Linked DNA regions of Homo sapiens: region 1 is linked to region 2. The links are contacts of gene promoters, found by promoter capture Hi-C in blood cells and fetal thymus (Javierre and others, 2016). All regions are on one chromosome and are shown on one strand. Each heading gives the region's core, a stretch centred on a gene start or on the middle of the fragment in contact. The rest is flanking DNA. Distances are from core to core; before and after follow the strand shown.

Region 1 (5,226 bases), core at 1,749-4,248, 100 kb before region 2:
ATTATTAAAAAACAAATCAGGCTGGGCACAGTGGCTTATACCTGCAATCCCAGCACTTCGGGAGGCCAAGGCTGGAGGATCACTTGAGGCCAGGAGTTTAAGATCAGCCTGGGCAACATATTGAGACCCTGTCTTTACCAAAAAAAAAAAAAAAAAAAAAGAGTTTCGCTCGTTTCCCAGGCTGGAGTGCGATGGCACAATCTCGACACACTGCAACCTCTGCCTCCCGGGTTCAACTGATTCTCCTGCCTCAGCCTCCCAAGTAGCTAGGATTACTGGCACCCGCCACCATGCCCAGCTTTTTGTATTTTTTTTAGTAGAGAAGGGGTTTCACCCATGTTGGCCAAGCTGGTCTGGAACTCCTGACCTCAGGAGATCCACCCGCCTCAGCCTCCCAAAGTGCTGGGATTACAGGCGTGAGCCACCATGCCTGGCCAAAAAAAAAAAAATTTTAATCAGCTAGGCATGGTGATACATGCCTGTACTCCTAACCACTTGGGAGTCTGAGGCAGGAGGATCACTTGAGTCCAGGAATTCAAGGTGCCAGTGAGCTACGATCACACCTCTGCACTCCAGCCTGGATGACAGAGTGAGACCATCTTTAAAAAGAAATAAAATAATTTAAAAAAGAACCAAATCCCTGTAACTACTGAAACCACTGTGAAGGTTGTTTCTTTAAAAACATACACTTTCCTCTTTTGTTTAGCAGAACATACTCAGTATTGCTTTTCTGAATTTACTCAAGGTCAACACTATGAAACATCAATGACTAAACAGCTGTAAATTCAGAGAATTCAACGGTGCGCAGGCTAGTAGCCCTTTACATAGTTATCTCCAAACTACTATTCTTTCACAGTATTCCACCTGTCTTCTATAATTTTGTTTCCTCCTTCTACCATGAAAAATCAAGAACAACAAGAGATCAGAGGCAGGAGGGATATACTAAGGAAAAGGTGAAGGACTGTGCACACAGGCAGCCACATACACTTAAAGAGAGGCTGTTTTCTGTTTTCTTCCCCGCTTGTTTTCTGCTTTCTACCCATTCTGAAGGCAACGTCTCCCATTCTTACTAAGGATACACATCTCCATCCTTTTATGTTTACCGACCCAAAACAAGGGGAAAAGTGGGGAAGCCCACCCAAATAGCTGAACTGTGGAAGACCTCAAATGATACTGACATCACCCAAACTGCCTGATTCCACCTGAGAACACCCACAGGGCAAAGACCGCACAGACCATAGCATTCCAAGGTGTTCTGCTTCTCCACTATTCAAAGAAAAAGTTCTGGGGCCGGGCACGGTGGCTCACGCCTGTAATCCCAGCCCTTTGAGAGACTGAGGCAGGTGGATTGCTTGAGCTGGCCAAGAGTTCAAGACCAGCCTAGGCAACATAATGAAACCCCTGTCTCTACTAAAAACATAAAAATCAGCCGGGCGTTGTGGCATATGCCTGTGTTTTCCAGCTAAGTCCTCAGCTTGGGGGGCTGAGGTGGGAGGATCACTTGAGCCCAGGCTGTCGAGGCTTCAGTGAGCTGAAATTGTGCTACTGCACTCCAGCCTGGGCGACAGAATAAGACCTTGTCTCAAAAAAAAAAAAGAGAGAGAGAGAGACAAAGAAAAAGCTTTGAGACAGTTACTACACCTACCACTAACTTACTCCACACACACCCAGGCTGGCTGACCAAGGACACTTGGCCTTCTATCTGTAGCTACACTGAACACTTTCTCTGCAAAACTCTATAGCATCTGAACATAAGACACTCCTTTAGGAGTCAATATCTTTTCTTTTACACTGTTTGATGGGGACAGAGTTTGAGGTGCCAGGACCCCCTGCTATGATAACCAGCTTCTCACACAATCTCCTCTCACTCTAAGACCCTCTAAATGATCAGCAGGCTGCTGGATCTAACCAACCTTCTTTCATAGTCGACCAGAGTGAGATGATCACCTGGCCTATGGAAACAAAGCAAATGGCTGAGAGGAGTCAGTCCAATACCCAGTCTTGAATATTTTTGTACTGAGCCATAGAAATGGGAGTCAGATGATGATGAGTACTGGAACTAGAGTCAGGACATGCAGGAGCCATGACTAAGGCCACTACATGTAACTCAAGCAAGGAAGCTACATGTGAATGGAAAAAGCCCAGCTCCAGAGAAGACATGTACTCCAGACTCTCCAGATCCAGTTCCCACTGCCCAGCTGCACTTCAGTTTCTGTCCCGAGAGGCTACGATTGCTTCTGCTCTTCTTAGACTAAAACTGCTTTCACTTGGCCTAAACTGTGTGGCTCATGGGACTTGCAATCAAAAGTGCTCTAATCTAAAGCACGGCCTGCTTACCTTCCCTGACATCAACCCCAAACCATCTGTTTCCTAGTGTTTATTAAGAACCTCAGACTTTTCTGAATGAGCTAGCCAATCCTCTTTACAAATATAAATATTGCAAATATTAAAATCTCACCTAAAAATCACTTTCTGTATAAATGAACCTCAGGGCCTGATTACCATCACTTTTTTTTTTTTTTAATGTGTGATTCTGACAGTTTATTTAAGGCACAGCCTCCCACCTTGGGGTCATGAAAATATTGGCCATATATTTACTGTTAGGACATTATAACTAGTTTTCTCATTAAGCTTCAAATCCATTTGAAGTTTTTATTTTTTTAATTGTGGCAAAATATGCATAACATAAAATTTACCACTTTAACCCTTTTTGAGCATACAATTTAGTGAAATTAGGGACATTCCTATTGTGTATCACCATTAGCCATAGCTTATTTTCAAAGCATTCTGAAAATCATGACTTTTTTATTTTTATTAAACAAGTGTTTATGTTCCCTCATCAAATGACAAGGGCCAGGAGCCTCATCAGTGGCAGGACTGTGGCAGGACAGTGACGAAGGTAGCAAAGAGCACCCACAACAACTTGGAGCAGCACCAGAGCAGCTAAATCCATCCTCAGTTCCTCCAGACATGGCCACAGAAGCTAAAGAGACTAAAAATACTTGGAGAGGACAGATAAAAAGCTGTCAAGGATATTTAGCCCAGTTAGAGAGGTCGCCACTATCACCATATTTGCATCAGAAAACACTCATACAAGCTGCAGTGGGAAATATTTAGAATAATTAGATTCAGTACAGAAAGCCTGATGTTCCTTCCCTCCCAGAATGCCTGGAAGAAATCTCTGGGCCTTGAATTTGGTCAAGTTATCTATGATCAATTTCTGGAGGACCCCTAGGAAGAAAGACAAGTACTTCAAAAATGTTAAGTGCCCACTCTCCACCCTTCTAACTTGTTATAGCTTTCTTTTTAGCACAACAGCCTCTATCAAGAAAACCAAATGAGGAAGAAACTTTCATCAAAGCTTTGTGAAAGCAAATGATTCAGCCAGAACATTTCATAATGGCTGAGATGGAAAGGATAAGGCAGGGAATGTTTACACGAACACCAGGAACTTCAACTTGCCTCTCAGTATCTTTAAAAATGAAAGAAACTTCCAAAAATAAATTATGTTCACGGCCTCTCCAAACGCGAGGCCTATAGGAGGCCCAGGGAGCAGGTTCAAGTGAAGATGTGATATGATCAATGACAGTGGGCCCACAGCAACTCCCCAATCCACACGAGTTTCTAAATAGGAAGAGTCTTCATTTACTGAATTACTGGGAATCGATAGATTTTAATAACAGTTATATTAATCAACTCCAGAAAGTACAACTAAATGAATATAAATACTACCTTAAACATAAAAAGTCTGAGGTTAGCAAATATTTTTCATCTGTAATCATATATTATTTAAGTCTATTTTCCAAAACTATGAACCCTCATCTATGTCTGAACAAAGACCTCAGATCTGTCATACAGAATAACTATGAACATTTTGGTGTTGTACATCTTTTTTAATAAATTTAAATTTTTTTACATTTTGTTTGTTTTGAGACAGGATCTCACTCTGTCATCCAGACTGGAGTGCAGTGGCGTGATCGTAGCTCACTGCAGCCTTGACCTCAAGGGCTCAAGTAATCCTCCAACCTCAGCCTCCCAGGTACCTGGGATCACAGGCGCACACCAACACATCTGGCTAATTTTTTCTATTTTTAGTAGAGACAAGGTCTCACTATGTTGCCCAGGCTGGTCTCGAACTCCAGGGCTAAAGCAATCCTCCCGTCTCGGCCTCCCAAAGTGCTTAGATTATAGGCACCGAGCCACAGCACCCGGCCTACGTTTTTTAAAGTAAATATAGTATATTAAACAGACAGACCTAAAAAATTAAGCCCTCTATGTACCTCAGAAAGGAGATATCTGAGTGTCTGTAGTTCAAATCCCCCCATACAGCTTGAGTCAACATATTATTCTTGTCCTGGAGCAAGGACCTCAAAAGGAAAAGATACAGTTATACAGAATAGCTGAATATCAGGAAAGCAAGCCCTGAAATGAAATTCCATATCTCCGACTTCATTTCCTTACACAATAGTCCCCCTCTTATCCATGGTTTCAGTTACAAGCGGTCAACTAAGGTCCAAAAATAGGTGAGTATGGTACAATAAGATAATCAGAGAGAGAGAGAGACCACATTCACACAACTTTTATTACAGTATATTGCTGCAACTGTTCTGTTTTATCATTAGTTATTGCTATTAATTATTAATAGTAATTATTATTAATGGGAAGGAACTTTCGAGGTCATCGCTAGGAAAACCCTTTACCCAACACATGAATCCCCTCAAAATGACTACCAACTATCTCATTACATAAGAGCTGAGGTCTGAGAAAAGCAAGATGAGGAAAAGCTGTGCTGGAATCAAGAGTGATAAATGCAGAAATACCATCTGGTAAAAGAAGGTATGGAGGCCATGGAGAGAAAGGCTTCTAGCTCCTGGTCCACCTAAGTGGCAGCAAAGACAGCACAGGATGCAGCTCTGCTGGGATCCTTGAGTCCTGCTCACCAGCATTCCCAGCTAGTGAAAGAGTACAAGCCAGGCACAGCGGCTCATGCCTGTAAGCCTGGCACTTTGGGAGGCTGAGACAGGATGACTGCTTGAGGCCAGGAGTACAAGACAAGCCTGCGCAACATAGCAAGACCCTTTCTCCATAAAATTAAAAAAGAATTAGCCGGGTGTGGTGGCACACGCCCGTAGTCCTCACTACTCAGGAGGCTGAGGCAGGAGGATCACTTGAACCCAAGAGTTCAAGGTTGCAGTGAGCTGTGATGGCACTCTAGCCTGGGTGACA
Region 2 (5,439 bases), core at 96-2,595:
TGCACATCTGGCCAAAAATTAGAAAGAGAAAGAAATCAGCCTCTCAAATCCACAGACAGGTGTTCGGGGCTTCCCAGGAGACCTGCTTATGAAGGGCAACGGGGATGGCTATGGACTGGTGGTTAGTGAAGGAACAACAAAGGTTTCTGAGACTTGCGCAGGTCAGCGGGAACCAAACAGGTGGCAAGAGTGGGCTGCTGTCCACCTTCCCTTGACAATGGCGTCATTTCGAAGACCTTTAAATTATTTAGATTGTTGTAACCAAGACATCTTTAATAATGCACCAAACAGCAGGCACCAGGTTGAAATCAATTAGACTCCACCGATAAATTATAAGGGAGAAATTTACAGGAGAATGGCTCTGGGGTAGGGACTGCAGGTACACATGCCTGCCAGAGACAATTATATCAGGAACCAAATAGTTATTGCTTTGTCATTTAAGCAGCAGAAAAGATGGCCAGGTGCTCCTAAATTAGAGCAATAACAAATAACTAAAATGAGGAGGCCTGTTCTGGGCAGGAAGGCTTCTGGGTGGCCAAGAGAAAAGACAATGGAGGTAGGAACAAATGTCATTTGGGGGATATCTAGGATCCGGATGCACCCTGCACTGGGGGCACCTCGCGCTTCTTCCAGGAGTTTGGGGCCAGTGGGGTAACAGGTGGTATCACAGGGGTTTGTCTCCCAGAGGATGACAATCTCCTGGAGGTGACTTCAAAGTTTCCCTTTCTAGGCAGGACGCGGTGGCTCATGCCTGTAATCCCAGCACTTTGGGAGGCCGAGGATCTCCTGAGTTCAGGAGCCTCAGACCAGCCTGGCCAACATGGTGAAACCGTGTCTCTACCAAAAATACAAAAAAATTAACTGGGCGTGGTGGCGCGCGCCTGGAGTCCCAGCTACTCGGGAGGCTGAGGCAGGAGAATCGCTTGAACCCGGGAGGTGGAGGCTTCAGTGAGCCGGGATTGCGCCACTGCACACACACCAGGCTGGGCGACAGAGTATGACTCCGTCTCAAAAAAAAAAAAAAAAAGCAAAGTTTCCCTTTCTAGTACAGGAAAAGCCCTAGGGAGTCCTGGCTGGATCTCAGGCCCCCGAGGACGCAGCCACGCCGCGTGCCACGCGTCCATTGGGAGCACGAAGAGACACCCGCGTGGTCACCCCGCCAGGGCTGCCTAGGCGCCGCGTCCCGCCCTAGGCCGCGCGGGGGCGCAAAGCGCAGGCGCACTCCCGCCGGGCGCGGACGGCTCCGGGCCGCCAGGGGCCGCTGTGGCGCAGCCGGGCTGGCCCGCGCTGTCCCTGACGCGGATCACTGGCCCCTCTTGAGCACGGCCTTGCCGGTTTGGCGGGGTGAAAGGTTGCGAAGATGGCGACGGCCTTGAGCGAGGAGGAGCTGGACAATGAAGACTATTACTCGTTGCTGAACGTGCGCAGGGAGGTGAGGCCAGCGGCTGGACGCTCTGGGGGCTGAGGCCGAGCCCGGTCGTTCGGGAGGGCCGGGCTGGCGGTGGCCGCCCCACCCCCGCCACGGGAGGCTCGGGTCCGTCGGGGAGGCCGCGTGACCCCGGCGACGTGCACGCCAGCCGCCCGATGGAGGCGTCCCCACCGCCCAGACCCTCCCGCCGGGGGTTCCGGGGCCAGCCTCCGCCCCAGCTCCTGAAGGCCAGTGCGCCGCGTGCACTGTGTCCGGGTAGGGCCAGAGGCCCCCGCACGCTCAAGAGGAAACGGGGGCCCCGAGGAGGCCACCGTAGTGGGGTTAGCAGTCCTCCGAGACCCCGTCTCGCGCTCAGCCCACATACTCGTCCTGGCTGAGGGGCTGTGTCATCGCCCGCCGCCAGCAGGATGGCGAACTGAGTCTCACCCACCAAGGTCAAGGCCACTAGGGAACGTCCTTAGGGCTTTTTCCGGTTCCCGAGTCTTTCGTGGGGACGCTCTGCCTCTGAAGTGGGTCCAGCCTCAGAGGCATGCGTCTCATGCCCTCTTTCATTCCCCTGGACCCGATGTCCAGAAATTGCAGGCAGAGCCTCCGGGACACAGACCCTCGGCTCGGAGGCTGCAGATTAGGAAGAAGCCCTAGGCCAGAAAAGTGGTGCCCTAACAACAGCTTCAACATTCACACCAAGCACTTGTACCCTGTCTCCTCAACGAATAAAAGATAACATGAGAGAGTCTCACATAGCCTGGCAGTAGTAGGGCCCCACTACACTCCTTTGTTCTTGACTAGTCTGGAGTTGAGATAGGTGTGAAGGGCGAGAAGGCTTCCAGGGTCAGGTCATGAGGTGGATCAGTTTCTTTAAGCCGATGGGTCCAGACTTTTCAGCCCTGCCAGAGAATTCCTAATTCCATCTCTCAGGTTTTCCAGTGGTAATGAAAGCTAGCCAAGTTTGGCTATGCTAACCAAAGCGGGTTCAGTGTGTGTTGTCAGTAAATATTAGTCTATGTGATGTTAATAATACAAACTTATCTTGTGTGGGACCACTATGCTGAATGAACTTTGTACTGTTATCTCATTTAATTCTGAGGATAGCTCTTAAGGTAAGTATTATGATAGCCCTTGATTTACACTTGAGGAAACCAAGGCATAGAGAGATTAAGTAGTGTGTCTAAAGTCACACTACTAGAAAGTGCAAGAGCCTGAACTCAACCCAGGCAGTCTGACTCTGGAGCCCAGCTTGTGAGCTCCATGCTAGTCTGTCACCTTACCTTACCAGTCCTTGGACTACAAAGCTGCTAGTTCTGGTACTGTATCCTTGAGTGTCACGCGCGTCCGTGTGAAGAGACCACCAAACAGGCTTTGTGTGAGCAATAAACCTTTTTAATCACCTGGGTGCGTATGGGCTGAGTCCGAAAAGAGAGTCAGCAAAGGGTGGTGGGATTATCATTAGTTCTTATAGGTTTGGGATAGGCGGTGGAGTTAGGAGCAATTTTTTGTGGGCAGGGGGTGGATCTCACAAAGTACATTCTCAAGAGTGGGGAGAATATTACAAAGTACCTTCTTAAGGGCGGAATATCACAAAGTACATTATCACAAGGGCGGGGAGCGTGTATTGTCATAAGGCCAATTGACCAGTTAGGGTGGGGCAGGAGTAAATCACCATGGTGGAATATCTTCAGTTAAGGCAGGACCTGGCTATTTTCACTTCTTTTGTGGATCTTCAGTTGCTTCAGGCCATCTGGATGTATATGTGCAGGTCATAGGGGATATGATGGCTTAGCTTGGGCTCAGAGGCTTGATACTGAGCACCTCATGAAAGAATCCCTCGAATGTATGGGCCACTGTACTATGAGAATGTCCAGTGAAATATCTTTGGGAATTGCAGATTTTGTTAGGCTGCCATAGGGCACCTGGGGGTTCTTGTTCTCATTAATCAACACTTCGGGCTAATCACTCCTTTTTTTCCTTTTTTTTTTAAATTATACTTTAAGTTCCAGGATACATGTGCAGAACGTGCAGGTTTGTTACATAGGTAAACATGAGCCATGGTGGTTTGCTGCACCCATCAACCCATCATCTAGGTTTTAATGGGCTAATCACTTATTTAGCCTTAAGTCTCTTTCCCTTTAAATGAAGATGTCTGGCTAGTTATACTTTTTTTCCAGTTTTTAGAAGTCAAGCAATAAATGAAGCCAGCCTTTCTGAAATCATTCGTACTTAGTCTGGGTTGTCAGTAATTGAGCAGCCATTTATCAGGCGTACTGAACCGTAGGCAGCTGCTGCAGATGATCAAGCAGGTCTAGAGTAATAGTTTTAGCCAGAGTCCTAGGTGAAGATTTTGTCAAAGGTATACCTTGAAACTGCTGAAACTGTAGAGCCTGTCATTGTTTTTGGACTTACGGATGGGAGCCAAAGAAATTTTGTTTGTTTGTTTAGAGACAGGGTCTCACTCTGTTGCCCAGGCTGAAGTGCAGAGGTGGATCATGGTGCACTGCAACCTTGACTTCCCCGGGCTCAGGTGCTCCCACCTCAGACTCGCTAGTAGCTAGGACCACAGGCACATGCCACCATACCCAGCTAATTTTTGTATCTTTTGTAGAGACAGGGTCTCTCTGTGTTGCCCAGGTTGGTCTCCTGAGCTCAAGCGATCCTCCCACCTCTGCCTCCCAAAGTGCCGGGATTACAGGCATGAACCACCATGCCTGGCCAGGCCTGTCACTGTTATTAGACTTAAGGATGAAGTATATATAAAAACATAGATATAAATATTTATATATAAATATATATATTTATATATATAATTAGACTTCACCCAGGCTGGAGTGCAGTGGTGCAGTCGTGGCTCATAGCAGCCTCGACCTTCCCCGGCTCAGGTGATCCTCCCACCTCAGCCACCAGAGTAGCTGGTATTACAGGCACACACCACCACAGCTGGCTGATTTTTGTAGTTTTTGTAGAGACAGGGTCTCACTGTGTTGCCCAGGCTGGTCTCAAACTCCTGAGCTCAAGCAGTCCACCCATCTCAGCCTCCCAAAGTGCTGGGATTACAGGCATGAGCCACTGCACCCAGCCAAAAAATATTTCTTAAATTTTTTTTTTTTTTTTACTTCTCCCAATGAGTGAAGGCACTTTCCATATTTATGGCTATATGGCTATAGGTTAAATCCATATGAAACATGCTCCCTTGCAGAAGTCACTTTCTGTTGTCTTCGTCAGCAAACTCGGTGTTAAATGTCATACTCAGGTGTGGTGTGCTGGTTTTCCATCCCGGGATTCCATTAGAAGCTCTGAAGGTGATGTCTGAACTTGATATTTGCTGGAATTTTTTGTGTGAAATCAAACGTGAAGTTGAAATAACGTGATTTAGTTGGAAAAAAGTCAGAGTAATCTTAAATCTTAATGTGTGGTTGGAAGAATATCTTAATACCTGTTTGTGTGTTTGCTGTCAGTTCTAGAGTAGTTGCCATTTAAGTATAGCTGTGAGAGGCAAGGCCCTGTTCCCACTGATACTTCAAAGTACCTTCAAAAGAGTGTCCTCAAAACTCTCAATGTTCAGTAGAGTTCAGAGAGTTTTCTTTAGAAATCTCAAATGGAAACAATTCTAGACAAAACCAGGGAATCCTACTTTAAAATTATAAGCATAGGCTGGGCGCGTGGCTCAAGCCTGTAATCCCAGCACTTTGGGAGGCCAAGACGGGCGGATCACGAGGTCAGGAGATGGAGACCATCCTGACTAACACGGTGAAACCCCGTCTGTACTAAAAATACAAAAAATTAGCCGGGCGTGGTGGCGGGCGCCTGTAGGAGGCTGAGGCAGGAGAATGGTGTGAACCCAGGAGGCGGAGCTTGCAGTGAGCCGAGATTGCGCCACTGCACTCCAGCCTGGGTGACAGAGCAAGACTCTGTCTCAAAAAAAAAAAAATTATAAGCATAATAGAGGTATATAATTGGATTAATATAGAAATGTCAACAATCAGCTGAAGAATCTCCCTCTCCAGGATTTAAACTTT

The links. The method cuts DNA at HindIII sites, captures the fragments that hold promoters and counts their contacts. A CHiCAGO score of 5 or more calls a contact.
Region 1: a fragment that was not itself captured here is called in contact with the fragment with the promoter of DNAJC11 in region 2 in 1 of 17 cell types (monocytes); the score reaches 6.4 in monocytes.

What each region holds. Positions count from the first base shown.
Region 1 is chr1:6,799,111-6,804,336 of GRCh38, reverse strand. The region is part of intron 1 of CAMTA1 (calmodulin binding transcription activator 1); the gene reads right to left. Among named protein-coding and RNA genes, the nearest start is that of CAMTA1, 16 kb to the right of the region's middle. The HindIII fragment of the contact is 730 bases long and covers 2,634-3,363 here.
Region 2 is chr1:6,697,722-6,703,160 of GRCh38, reverse strand. DNAJC11 (DnaJ heat shock protein family (Hsp40) member C11) reads left to right here and starts at 1,345. Exons shown (of 16, transcript NM_018198.4): 1 at 1,345-1,432. The coding sequence starts at 1,361. RefSeq lists a silencer at 1,109-1,558. The HindIII fragment of the contact is 16,969 bases long and covers 1-5,439 here.